Regions from separate parts of the Homo sapiens genome. Here regions 2, 3, 4 and 5 are each linked to region 1. Evidence: promoter capture Hi-C in 16 types of primary human blood cells and fetal thymus (Javierre and others, 2016). All regions are on one chromosome and are shown on one strand. The core of a region is centred on a gene start or on the middle of the fragment in contact, and the rest is flanking DNA. Distances in the headings are between cores, read along the strand shown. Region 1 holds the start of FGF8 (fibroblast growth factor 8). Region 2 holds the start of TLX1NB (TLX1 neighbor). Region 3 has its middle 17 kb from the start of TLX1. Region 4 overlaps LINC01514 (long intergenic non-protein coding RNA 1514). Region 5 has its middle 11 kb from the start of LBX1-AS1.

Evidence for each region. The method cuts DNA at HindIII sites, captures the fragments that hold promoters and counts their contacts. A CHiCAGO score of 5 or more calls a contact.
Region 2: a contact is called between the fragment with the promoter of TLX1NB here and the fragment with the promoter of FGF8 in region 1, in 1 of 17 cell types (endothelial precursors). The highest score is 6.0, in endothelial precursors.
Region 3: a contact is called between a fragment that was not itself captured here and the fragment with the promoter of FGF8 in region 1, in 3 of 17 cell types (endothelial precursors, erythroblasts and M2 macrophages). The highest score is 7.4, in endothelial precursors.
Region 4: a contact is called between a fragment that was not itself captured here and the fragment with the promoter of FGF8 in region 1, in 1 of 17 cell types (endothelial precursors). The highest score is 6.2, in endothelial precursors.
Region 5: a fragment that was not itself captured here is called in contact with the fragment with the promoter of FGF8 in region 1 in 4 of 17 cell types (endothelial precursors, M0 macrophages, M1 macrophages and 1 more); the score reaches 8.4 in endothelial precursors.

Annotation. Positions count from the first base shown.
Region 1 is chr10:101,774,803-101,777,422 of GRCh38, reverse strand. It overlaps FGF8 (fibroblast growth factor 8), which reads left to right and starts at 1,309. Exons shown (of 6, transcript NM_033163.5): 1 at 1,309-1,554; 2 at 1,647-1,683; 3 at 2,207-2,293; 4 at 2,511-2,620. The coding sequence starts at 1,523. RefSeq lists enhancers at 410-1,228, 1,665-2,403, 2,404-2,620 and a promoter at 1-1,504. The HindIII fragment of the contact is 3,344 bases long and covers 522-2,620 here.
Region 2 is chr10:101,129,810-101,132,429 of GRCh38, reverse strand. TLX1NB (TLX1 neighbor) reads left to right here and starts at 1,284. Exons shown (of 3, transcript NR_130723.1): 1 at 1,284-1,644. It overlaps TLX1 (T cell leukemia homeobox 1), which reads right to left and starts at 1,130. Exons shown (of 3, transcript NM_005521.4): 1 at 321-1,130. The coding sequence starts at 888. The HindIII fragment of the contact is 16,958 bases long and covers 1-2,266 here.
Region 3 is chr10:101,146,977-101,149,596 of GRCh38, reverse strand. No RefSeq gene overlaps it. Among named protein-coding and RNA genes, the nearest start is that of TLX1, 17 kb to the right of the region's middle. The HindIII fragment of the contact is 2,312 bases long and covers 164-2,475 here.
Region 4 is chr10:101,186,107-101,188,726 of GRCh38, reverse strand. The region is part of intron 3 of LINC01514 (long intergenic non-protein coding RNA 1514); the gene reads right to left. Among named protein-coding and RNA genes, the nearest start is that of LINC01514, 11 kb to the right of the region's middle. The HindIII fragment of the contact is 3,701 bases long and covers 1-2,620 here.
Region 5 is chr10:101,239,173-101,241,792 of GRCh38, reverse strand. No RefSeq gene overlaps it. Among named protein-coding and RNA genes, the nearest start is that of LBX1-AS1, 11 kb to the right of the region's middle. The HindIII fragment of the contact is 4,597 bases long and covers 1-2,620 here.

The sequences.
Region 1 (2,620 bases), core at 60-2,559:
TTTGGCCTAATGGCTTCCTGGGACCACACCAAACCCTCCAGCCCTACCCCCAGGGGAATGGAGGGTCACTGGGGAAGGGGAGGTTGTAAGTGAAGACAGCAGTCTGGTAGGGCATCACCTGCTCCTCACAAGGCACCTGTCCCAGAGCATCTCTGTCCACCCAGGCTGCTCCCACAGAAGCAGCATGGGGGCTCAGGGTTTCCAGAAACCTCAGGGGGGAAGCCACAAGGTGGGGGGCTAGGAAAGGCTTAGACAAGTGCCTACCTTCTCCTATGCCCCAAGCCCAGCTGACCAGCCCCTGCCTAGAATACAGTAGGTGTGTAAATACCTGTGAAATGAAAAACGAGTGGGGCTTTGAGGGGGAAAGGGCTGGGTGGCCTGGATGGAAGTCCCTTCCCCCAGTAAAAGCTACTGAGAGTTTTTTTGCCCCTGCTGCCTGCTGAGGTACGGGGACAGTGGGTCCTGCCAGGGACCTCCGGACTCTCTCTTCCACACAGGTGGCTCGGGGTGCTCCTCAAGCTTCAGGCTAGTGTGTGTGTGTGTGTGTGTGTGTGTGTGTGTGTGTGTGGTGAGGGGCACAGGGGAAGGGGTGATAGTGATAATGGGATGGGGGGAGGGGGAGGCATTTCTGGCTCCCAGGGCCTCCTCGGGAGAGTGAAGGAGACTGGAGAGACCGACAGGACGGGGCACGCGGCCGAAACAGGGGAGCGGGGTCCGGGTGGCACCGGCACGCACTGCGCGAGGGCCGGGTGCGCAGCCATTCGCTGCATGGTTAGCGGCCGCTCCCAGGGGCCCGGCGGGACACACAGTAGGTGGCTCGGAGACCACTGCGTAGCCGGCGGCGGAAGCGGCTGGGCCCGGAGGCGGAGACCCAGACCCGCCAGACTCGGGCGCTCCAGGCGGTCGGGGAAGCCCAGGCTCGGGGTCTCCCGGCCCGCAGAGTTTGCAGCCCTAGGCGCCCCCATCCCCGCGCGTCCGGGACCGGGGAGCGCGCGAGGGGACAGGCCGGGGATAGGGGGAGGCGCCCAGACCGGCCGCCCCCGCCCCTCCCGCGGGTCCCCAGACCCCTCCCCTAGCCCAGACCCTCAATCCCGAACCCGTCGGCCGCCCCTCCCCGGCCGCCCCGCCCCCGCCCCGGGCTGCATCCAGGCCCCAGTTCCCAGCCGGGGGCTGCGGGCTCCCGCCGCCCGCCCCGCGCTCCCCCCTCGCGCCCGGTGCGGCGCCCCCCGCCCCCACCCCTCCCCGCCCTCCCACCTCCCCACCCACCCCGCCAGCCCGTGACCCTCCCGCCCGCTCCGGCTCCCGAGCAGCCAGCGGCCACCGGCTCCGGCAGCGGCGCACAGCGATTCGGTGCGGCGCGGCGAGCACGACGTTCCACGGGACCCGCGGAGCCGCGTCGTGATCGCCGCCGGCCTCCCGCACCCGCACCCTCTCCGCTCGCGCCCTGCTCAGCGCGTCCTCCCGCGGCGGCCCGCGGGACGGCGTGACCCGCCGGGCTCTCGGTGCCCCGGGGCCGCGCGCCATGGGCAGCCCCCGCTCCGCGCTGAGCTGCCTGTGAGTACCGCGCCGCCCTGCCCCGCCACCCGCCCCCCGCGCCCCTCGCCTCACCCGCGCCTCTCTCTCCCGCCCGCTTTTGTCTCCCACAGGCTGTTGCACTTGCTGGTCCTCTGCCTCCAAGCCCAGGTGAGGAGGGGTGCGCGGAGGCGGGGGCCGGGCGCGCCGGTGTGAGACCCGGGTGGGCAGCGCCGGTCGGGGGCACCGGGACTGACTCTGCGGCCGGCGCGGGAGGGCTGAGGGCACCTTAGAAACCCAGCCCCGAGCCACCCCGAGGAGGGAGCTGAGGCACAGAGAGGTAGCACCCCTCCTGAGGTCACACAGCGAGTGAGTGGCCAGGATAGAAACGAAGGTCTCGGAGCCCAGCACTGTCCCCCATGCATCCTCGCCGGCTGGGGGCATAGGGAACACCCAGCCGCCGAGGAAGGGGGCAGCCGCGGCCAGGGGATGGATGTTCGATGCCAGGGGAAGCCGGGTGACTGCAGCAGAGACCCTCTCAGCGCCCCTCGGGGGAGGCTTGTGGCCGATTTGGCCCAATGATCGGGTGCCCAGGTTCCCTGCACTCTCAACATTTGCTCCGTAAATTTGTCTTTATAAATGTCAGGGGTCGGGGAGGGCTGCCTCCCTACTTAAAAGCGCCCTGCTCCTCTAGGAAGGCCCGGGCAGGGGCCCTGCGCTGGGCAGGGAGCTCGCTTCCCTGTTCCGGGCTGGCCGGGAGCCCCAGGGTGTCTCCCAACAGGTGGGTCCAGCTTCTCCCTGGGGCTCGTTCATCCTGGGCTGGGTCTGCCCGACTTGCGTGGGTGGGGGATGGTGGCCTGGGCTGGCATGTTGGGGGAACCCCCAGCACCTGCTGGCGGCTTGGGGCAGTGAGGGGGACGCAGGGTGATGGGGCCACTCGGGCCCCTGGGCGGAGTAGCATTATAATGGTGTATTGTGTATTTTTCAATTTCCTAAAGGTAACTGTTCAGTCCTCACCTAATTTTACACAGCATGTGAGGGAGCAGAGCCTGGTGACGGATCAGCTCAGCCGCCGCCTCATCCGGACCTACCAACTCTACAGCCGCAC
Region 2 (2,620 bases), core at 35-2,534, 640 kb after region 1:
GAGTAGCTGCAGAAGGTGGTCCTGAATCTATGGCCTCCTTCTCTCTGCCTGACCCGGCTAGTGGATCCGGAGAGGGGACCAGGGAGAGCTCCTCCGAGCAGGGGTCCTTCGGGAGACAGAGAGGGGTCCAGGCTGAGAGAACTCTTCAAGCATGGCGAGTCTGCGTTATAGAATCGGGCGGGCGGCTCAACTTGGGGGAAGCACCAAGAAGAGCTGGGCGACCTGGAGCGCAGAACCGGCTTTGGGGAGCCACCCGGCGGGGCAGGGGTAGCACGGAGCCCGGGCCGCGGCCAGGCGGGGAGCGCGCGGGCCGGACTCACCTGTGAACCTGTCCTTTGTGTATCTGCGGTTACTCTCCATCCAGGGGAAGGTGAGGCCAGTGAGGTTGTTGACGCCCGGCATGGCAGGCACAGAGGGCACGGTGGGCAAGCCGGTGGCCAGGGGCTGGGGGTGGGCCACGGCTCCGGCGAGCGGCCTGTGTGCCGGCACCCGGATTACCCCCGCAGCGCTGAGTGCCCCGGCACCGCCGCTGCTGCCGCCGCCGCCGCCAGGACCGGGGCCGCCTGCCAAGGCCATGTTCACGTTGTAGGAGCCGGTCAGAGGACCCATGCTGCAGGCGCCGCCGCCGCCTGCCGGGCCTCCGGGGCCGCCGGGACCTCCAGTACCATAGGCCCCCGCTCCTCCAGCCCCCGTCGCGGCCGCGGAGCCCCCGCCGCCGTAAGTGTAGGCGCCTCCGACCAAGCAGCCAAGGCCGTATTCTCCGTCCTGGAGGCGCGAGGCGGGTCCCATGCAGCCACCCTGGTCCGGGCTGTTGAGGATCTGGTCGATGCCGAAGCTAATGGGCTCTGCGTGACCCGGGTGGAGGTGGTGCGGACCCAGGTGCTCCATGCTGGCCCTGGCCCCACCGGGGGGCCCGGGCGGCGGCGCTCGCTGCGCTCGGCTCGGGGGGCAGCTAGCAGGGGCTGGGAGGCAACAGCGGCTCCTGGCTGCGCGGAGACTTGGAAGCGAAGTGCGCAGAAAGGCTAAAGTAGAAGGGGGAGGGGAGGGAGAGAGGGGGCGCCGTATTCTTCCCCTCTCTGGCTTCTGCTTCCCCGCTCCGGCTGCTCGCTCGCTGTTGACTCTGGGACATCAATCACCAGGCGAAAAAGCCCGGTGCAAGAGAGCTTCGCGGTTTCGACTGGGTCTCTCCATTGGCTGTGCGCGGAGAGGAGCGGGGTGAATGACAGCGCGAGGGAGGGGAGGGGAGGGGGAGAGGAAGGCCAGAAGCCGAGACAGATGCAGGAGCCAGAGATAGAGGGACGGAGACCAAGACTCGGAGTAGTTCATGAAGAGAGAGAAGAGGGGAACAAGGCGAGGCTTAAAAGGAAAAGGGAAAACAGGAAGCGACCATTCCCAGAGACGGACAGACAGACAAACCCAAGGAGGGTGAAGTCAACTGTCTTCCCGGCCTGTTGGGAGCCCTCCCCTCACTTTGAACTGGGCCAAAGGAGTCCAGCCCACAAGGCGTCTGAGGAAGGGATGTCTCTGCCCAACTGGAGAATCTCCTCAAGGGCTCAGCTGCGAAACACCTGTCACTCAACCAGGAGATTTACTCCAAATTTCAAGTCCAGCTTTTTAGAAAGTAGAAGACTGTCTACTCCCCAGGTATGGAGCCCAGGCCCTGAGGCAGGACGGTGAGTTCAGGCTTGCCCTTCTTTAAAACACAGGCCTATGAACAACTGGCTATATGTTATAAAAATCAGCAACCACCCCCCAACTCAGCCTTCTTAGACAAATTCAGGAAGGGAACATATCCTGAAAGGCAGGCACAAGTCAAGAGGGTTGGTTTGGGGTCTGCTGCCAGGGTGCCCATGCCTCAACATACCCCTTTGGTTTTAAATAAACAGATGCGTCAAGAAGTAAAATCCTACAGGGTTCGAAAGAGGCAATTCCTACAGTGTTTGAATGAATTCAACCAGATTGCATTCCACCTAACAATTACCCCAGGGTTGGCTATTCCAGACAAGAAGCCTTTGGACTGTGGTGTGTGTTCTTTTCTTACGTTTGGAATCTTGGGAGGGAGCCATAGGGGCTTAAGGCCGTGGGGGCTGGGATTGGTGGGACTAGGATCAGGGAAGTGCATCCAGGACAAATTTAGGCCTTTCCAACGTTTTGCCAGTGGCTGTCTGGCTGAGAGCCCAAGAGAAAAGGAGGAAACTCCCTTTTTCTTCTTCCTGTCTTTCCCCTCTCCAGTAGAAAATGTTTGCTACCTTTTAGAAGCCAAGCTTTGGGAAAGGCACAGGTTCCATCACTTGGGATCTATTTCTGTTCTATTTCAGTTCAGTTTCAGATTAGACTTTTGGGTAGGCCCTGTCTCTATCTGGAAAGATGCTAGGATGTGAAGACTCACATTCTCTCCCATCAAGTCTTATTGCAATCTATTTGCTTTGGGCATGTCTGTCACCTCCACTTGAAGAGATCTTCTTGGAGGCAGAGAGTGGCTTATTCATTTCTGTTCTCTCCTGAAGAATACAGCCCCAAACAACAAAATATGGTCATCTTGGGTGAATAACAAAGAATGTATCTCTTTATTCAATAATATTTATTGAGTACTGTACTCACTATGTGTCAGGCACTGTTC
Region 3 (2,620 bases), core at 70-2,569, 630 kb after region 1:
CAGCCTCCCTTGCAGCTAGCTCTTCTCAAAGGAATGTAAGTGAAATATGCACAACTTTGCAGTCATCTTCTTAAAGAGCTTGCCTTGGAGTTGCTGCCCCCTTTCCTTCCTCTGTCAAGGATTGACACAAGTTTGGAAGGTGGCTGCGGAGAATGGCAAAGCTTCCTCACTAGCCTGGGCCTCCCGATGCCTTCACAGAGCAGAGCTATCTGTCTTTCCTAGATGCAAGAGAAAAAATAATTTATATCTTGTTTGAGCCACTGTATTCTGTGTTATTAGAACAGCCTGGTTTGTCCTTTACGGTAGTGTGGTGCAGTACTTCAGGATGAAACATATGCTATGAGCTGGTACTTAATATTTGCTGCTATTTCCCCCATAGCCTGATTGTATGACCCCAAAAAGAGAGGGCAATACCTTCTACAAGTCCCCAGTGACACCCTCACTTTCTGTGACTCTTGTTTCTACTATATTAGAGTTAGAGTCCCCAAGAGAAGAAAGTTCCCACCAAGAGAAACAATGTTTTCACTGAAATGGGAGCATAAATTCTTACCTGGTCACTTCTGGTTGCTCCTGTCAATGGATGAGCAAGGTTAAAGGAGACTATGGAATTGGCTAGAGCGGTAGCAAGTTCAAGTAGAATGTTTTCCTATACAATGGGGCAAAAAGGAGTATTCATGGAATCACAGGGCTCCCTTGGGGTCCCTTGTAGTGCTGTTATGTCCAGGGGTAAAAGTTAATGGAAGACCACGACAGCCCTTTCTAGGCAGGACCATCAAGGGCTCAGATCCCTCAGGAACAAAGGCTTGGCTCTCTCCAGGATAAAGAACCCAAACCAGCCCAGGTGCTGCCTGAAGGCAAAAGAAACAGAATGGAAAAGGGAGGAGGAATGTCATGAATACGAAATATGCAAAAAAAAAGACAATGGTTTTTACGTCCTGACCTGTTGTCATATTAGACAGTCTATATTTTAACTTCATGCATTTTCTTCCATTCTTATTCCCTTGTAATTGTATTATTATTATTATTATTATTACTATTTTTTTTTTGAGATGGAGTTTCACTCTTGTTGCCCAGGCTGGATTGCAATGGCATGATCTCAGCTCACTGCAACCTCCGCCTCCTGGGTTCAAGCAATTCTCCTGCCTCAGCCTCCCGAGTAGCTGGGATTACAGGCAACTGCCACCACATTCGGTTAATTTTTTTTTTTTATTTTAAGTAGAGACAGGATTTCACCATGTTCACCAGGCTGGTCTCGAACTCCTGTCCTCAAATGATCCGCCTGCCTCAGCCTCCCAAAGTGCTGGGATTACAAGCATGAGCCACCATGCCTGGCCACTACTATATTATTATGTGTGATGATTATTAGCTTTACAATTTAGTCTAATCCACAAGTTGCACAATATTGAGACCAGATTCCAACAGAACTAGAGAAGGAAGAGAACAAAGGTATTGAACTTAGAGCTATGAGGCTTTGGATTGTCAGGAAAGTTGAATATATTTTCTGTCATGAGTGACAGTAACATGTTAGGTGGGAGCATTTTGTGGAGGAAAAGCCTGTAAATTTAGGAAGAAAGGCATATGTGAATATTGGGCAGCCAAAGGGGTGGGTCCCCTCGAGTGGGTCCCCCCACCCTTTTTTAACCTAGCATCTGAACACTTCCTGATAGGGAGACTGTCCTCAAACAGGGTAAATATTGGTGGAACAGTTTTAGCTTTTAATATGGAAGTCTAAGGGACTATGCTCTTCCCTCCCATCTCTGACAACTAGTGCCTGGACACATGTCCTACTCTTAGTGTCGTTAAATGATACTCCATGAGTTTTGAATCTTGAGGGAGTGAAGTGAAGATGGAGGAAAAGTTGGGAAATTACTCTCAGTGATGTTCATGCCGGAGTCTAGCAGCATGTGGTGCTAGCAGCAGTGCCTTAACGAAGCATTCCTGTGTTTCCTGAAACTGATGTTCCTTAATTCCTCAGCCTTCCTATTGATCCTGTAAACTACCGAATATCCCTGGAATCAGTGCATTTTTCTTCTCGGGTTAGCTGGACTCAGACTCCACACACTGAGGGACTGCAGAAAATCAAAGACTCAAGGGAGGAGAGTATTCCCTGCAGTCCAGGGTGGAGAAGCACTCTCTAAACCTTATACAGAGGAGAGGGCTTCTGGCTCCGTATTGGTTGGAGGGGACACTGTTTCCTACAGGCCCATTTTATGGACTCTGATCACAAAGCAGACCCGTTTGTCAGGACAACTGGGGTGGTTATTGACTTGCCAGACCAGTCGCCCAGAAATCCAAAGGAATCAGTCCCCTGAACCCCTACCCTGCCTCCAAGGACCATAAAGTCAGAGAAGTATAGAAGTTTCGGCTCCCTGGGGAGGAGGAGCCAGGGCTGGGTTAGCTCCTCGCCCCGCCCCATAACTCCTGGAGATTCCAAAGATGTGCAGAGGGAGTTGCAGGGCCGACTGTGATGAAGCTTACAGCACTGCCACAGGGAATTTCCAAGTGACAGGGACCCCAGGGTGCTTCTCCTCAACGGAAATTAACAGCACCTGAGCTCTCGTGGCCTTGCCCTTGCCCCGATCCTTCAGGGAGGCTGCGAGCTGGGCAAGAGAACTCCAGG
Region 4 (2,620 bases), core at 88-2,587, 590 kb after region 1:
TTGGACAACATTCTTTTTTTTTTTTTTTTTTGAGACGGAGTCTCGCTCTGTTGCCCAGGTTGGAGTGCAGTGGCGGGGTCTTGGCTCACTGCAAGCTCCGCCTCCTAGGCTCATGCCATTCTCCTGCCTCAGCCTCCCGAGTAGCTGGGACTACAGGCGCCCACCACCATGCCTATTTTTTTTTTTTTTTTTGTATTTTTAGTAGAGACGGGGTTTCACCGTGTTAGCCAGGATGGTCTCCATCTCCTGACCTCGTGATCCAACTGCCTCGGCCTCCCAAAGTGTTGGGATTACAGGCGTGAGCCACAGCAGCCGGCCAGACAACATTCTTTTAAACACTCCTTTTTAGTTATCCCCACCTGCCCAGTTCCCTTATTAGGCCGAGACATCTTAACCAAATTATCTGCTTCCCTGACTATTCCTGGACTACAGCCACATTTCATTGCTGCCCTTCTTCACAACCCAAAGCCTCCTTCATGTCTTTCTCTTGTATCCTGCCACCTTAACCCACAGGTATGGGGACACCTCTACTCCCGTCCTGGCAACTGATCACATGCCCATTACTATCCCATTAAAACCTAATCACCCTTACCCTGCTCAACACCAGTATCCCATCCCACAACAGGCTTTAAGGGGATTGAAGCCTGTTATCACTCGCCTGCTACAGCATGGGCTACTAAAGCCTACAAACTCTCCTTACAATTCCCCCATCTTACCTGTCCAAAAACCGGACAAGTCTTACAGGTTGGTTCAGGATCTGTGCCTTATTAACCAAATTGTTTTGCCTATCCACCCTGTGGTGCCCAACCTGTACACTCTTTTGTCCTCAATACCTCCCTCCACAACTCACTATTCCATTCTTGATCTTAAAGACACTTTTTTCATGATTCCCGTGCACCCCTTGTCCCAGCCCCTCTTTGCTTTTACCTGGACTGACCCTGAAACCCATCAGTCCCAGCAACTTACCTGGGCTTTACTGCCACAAGGCTTCTGGGACAGCCCTCATTACTTCAGCCAAGCCCTTTCTCATGATTTACTTTCTTTCCACCTCTCTGCTTCCCACCTTATTCAATACATTGATGACTTTCTACTCTGTAGTCCCTCCTTTGAGTCTTCTCAACAAGATACCCTCCTGCTCCTTCAACATTTATTCTCCAAAGGACATCAGTTATCCCCCTCCAAAGCTCAAATTTCTTCCCCATCCATTACCTACCTCAGCATAATTCTTCATGAAAACACGCATGCTCTCCCTGCCAATCATGTCTGGCTGGTCTCTCAAACCCCAACCCCTTCTACAAAACAACAACTCCTTTCCTTCCTGGTCGTGGTCGGATACTTTCGCCTTTGGATACCTTGTTTTGCCATCTGATTAAACCATTATATAAACTCACAAAAGGAAACCTAGTTGACCCCATAGATCCTAAATTCTTTCCCCACTCCTCTTTACATTCCTTAAAAACAGCCCTAGCAGCTGCTCCCATACTAGCTCTCCCTAACTCATCCCAACCCTTTTTCATTACACACAGCTGAAGTGCAGGGCTGTGCAGTTGGAATTCTTACACAAGAGCCAGGACCACACCCTGTAGCCTTTCTGTCCAAACAATTTGACCTTACTGTTTTAGGCTGGCCCCCACATTATTCCAGATACCACACCTTACCCCCATGACTGTATCTCTCTGATCCCCCTGACATTCACTCCATTTCTGCATATTTCATTCTTTCCTGTTCCTCACCCTAATCACATTTGGTTTATTGATGGCAGTTCCACCAGGCCTGATTGCCACTCACCAGCAAAGGCAGGCTATGCTATAGTATATTCCATATCTCATTGAGGCTACTTCTCTGCCCACCTCCACTACCTCTCAGCAAGCTGAACTCATTTCCTTAACTTGGGCCTTCACTCTTGCAAAAGGACTATGCATCAATATTTATATTGACTCTAAATATGCCTCCCATATCTTGCACCACCATGCTGTCATATGTGTTGAAAGAGGTTTCCTCACTATGCAAGGGTTCTCCATCATTAATGCCTCTTTAATAAAAACTCTTCTCTAGGCCGCTTTACTTCCAAAGGAAGCTGGAGTCATTCACTCCAAGGGTCATCAAAAGGCGTCAGATCCCATCTCTCAGGGCAATGCTTATGCTGACAAGGTAGCTAAAGAAGCTGCTGGCGTTCCAACTTCTGTCCCTCATGGCCAGTTTTTCTCCTTCTCATTGGTCACTCCCACCTACTCTCCCACTGAAACTTCCACCTATCAATATCTTCCCACACAAGGCAAATGGTTCTTGGACCAAGGAAAATATCTCCTTCCAGCCTCACAGGCCCATTCTATTCTGTCGTCATTTCATAGCCTCTTCCATGTAGGTTACAAACCGCTAGCCTATCTCTTAGAACCTCTCATTTTCTTTCCATCGTGGAAATCTATCCTCAAGGAAATCACTTCTCAGTGTTCCATCTGCTATTCTACTACTCCTCAGGGATTGTTCAGGCCCCCTCCCTTCCCTCCACATCAAGCTCGGGGATTTGCCCCCGCCCAGGACTGGCAAATTGACTTTACTCACCTGCTTCGAGTCAGGAAACTAAAATACCTCTTGGTCTGAGTAGACGCTTTCATTGGAT
Region 5 (2,620 bases), core at 38-2,537, 540 kb after region 1:
TTCTGAACCCCATTTTCTGTTCTCTGGGTCTGGGCCTGGAGATTCAAGGCATTCCACAAATGCCTTTTCCTACTTGTCTTCTTCTGGTACTCTAGCCAGGCTAGCCTGCCTGCTCCCCAAAATGATTGTGGCCATTCCTGCCTCTGTCCCGTTGCTCTTGCTCCCCATCCAACCTAGGATGGTCTATTTCTTTTCTTCTTCTTCTTTTTTTTTTTTTTTTTTTGAGATGGAGTCTCACTCTGTTGCCTAGGCTGGAGTGCAGTGGTGCGATCTCGGCTCACTGCAACCTCTGCCTCCCTGGTTCAAGTGATTCTCTTGCCTCGGCCTCCCAAGTAGCTGGGATTACAGGCATGTGCCACCACACCCAGCTAATTTTTGTATCTTTAGTAGAGACGGGGTTTCACCATGTTGGCCAGACCAGTCTCAAACTCCTGGCCTTAAGTAAACCTTGGCCTCCCAAAGTGCTGGGATTACAGATGTGAGCCACCACACCCGGCAAGAATTGTCTATTTCTTCCCTCCAACCACTCAATTCTTCTCATGCTTCAAGGACTAGCTCTAGTCTCAGCTTTGCCAGCCAGGCTTCTCTGGCTATAGGCCCTTCTCTGCTCTGATCTGCAGAGGCTTCCCTCACCATCTGAATGGTTTCTTAAGAGATTTGTCCAGTATGAGTCTTGAGATCCTTCTGCACAGGCAGAACCTGGGCTGGCCCTTGTCTTATCCACAAACTAGCAAAGGGCTAGGCATGTGATGTCAGGGGAGGCTCTAGACATGCCCACTTGAACTCAGCTCAGCTGTAGAATAAGGGGGATAATGACTGCAGAGGTGGTTCTTGTTCCCCCAGTGGCCACCCTAGTGGCTCTGTCGGTCACAGCCCGGAAAGCAGATGGCCAGGTAGGCAGACAGCTTTTAGACACTGGTTTACTCATGTGTTTGTTTGATACACATTTATTGAACAGCTTCTATGTGCCCCAGGCCCGTGGTCAGCATGGAACAGGAGAGGGAATCATTTAAAAAAATGTGATTAGACACAGTCCCTGCCCTCAAAGTCTTATCCATTAGTATAAGACTATAAGTCCACAAATAATGACAATGCATCAAACCAACAAAAATCAACAGAAGTGCTCTTTGTCTTATGCAACAATGGACTCTTGGAGCTGGAAAGGACCCCAAAGTCAGAGACTCTGATATCCCATATTCAGCTAAAACATATTTATATACATTAAATGAAACAATGTGATGACAGCTTTTACTTGACACAAAGTGATGGTCAAATGAGGACAATATTGGTGATGACAATAAGACCGTGATTATTTTCCTTCTTAGCAAGCGCTAAGCCCTGCTTGCATACTCCATGTGTTGGGGGAAGCTCATTCCATTGTTTCCACTTTGATCCTTCAGAAAGCCATTCTCAAGGATGAGCTGAAATCAGCCTCCCTGTCCCCTCTCAGCAGTTCACTGGACTTGATTCTAACTCCCAGACCACACAGTAGAGCTGGGACTAGGGTGAGGCGAGTGAGATGCCCACGGCACAAAACCTAAGGGATCACACACAGAGCTGAGAGCAGATGCCTTCCTTAAATATGGCACCTCACATGCCTCACCCTAGTCCTAGCCCTGCCACACAGTCTGTGCCTCCTCCCCAGCCAGCCCCAGGGGGGAACTGTCAGATTTCTCAAGTAACTTAAGTCTCCAAAGGAGCTCTGACCAGCAGCCTACAGGATGTGTGTTGAGCTTGTGCAGCCCCCACTCCCAGGGATGGGGTGATGGGGGCAGAGGAAGACTGAGATTCCTAGGAGAGTATGGATTCTAGCCAGGGAGACTCACCTGCCCACTTCAAGCCTGTCCTGCATGACTCCTTCTGCCTGGCTTTGCCTGGTTACAGCCAACTCCCTCTCCCCTACAGCACAGGTACAAGCAGCCTAAGTAAGAATGGTGTGCCCAGATCTGGGCCCTATAAGAAGCCAGGTGGTGGGCTCTGAAAGACACTGAGCAGTGGGCCTGGATATAGAAAGTAATGAGGGTGTTTCTCCTTCCCATGGGCATCTCCAGGTAGGGATGTGTGTGTGTGTGTGTGTGTGTGTGTGTGTGCGCGCGCGCGTGTGTAGAAGGCAGAATGTAAGGTTTACAGAAAAACCCTGGAGAATGGGGGCGGGGAGGGGCATGGAGTCTGGAAGACAGTGTGACCAGCTACACTACTTCCTAGTTTGTTCACCTCAAACAAGCCACGTGATCTTTGTGAGCCTCAGTTTGCTAGCTGTAAAACTGGACTTAAAAAGACTATTTTCCTACCTAGAGGGAGGATTATGAGAGGGCCAACTGTGACAGGCCGAGATCCTGACTAGGTTCAGCTGTCTTCGTGGGCTGGGGTGAGGCCCAGGCATGCCGAAACCTCCTGGGTTCTGCCCAAACTGGAGTTGCACCCTGTCTGCTCGCCTGGGGTCCAGCTCGCTCTGTGTTGCCTGAAACCACTCCTGCAGCCTCTCTATTTCTCTCTGGCCCTCATTGATCCTGACCTTACAAATTCTCGATTTTTTCTTTCCTGTTTAAAAAATCCTGTCCACCTTCAAGGCATCTTCGGCCTCTCAAGATCCCTGAGAGGGAGGCAGTGATGGAATTCT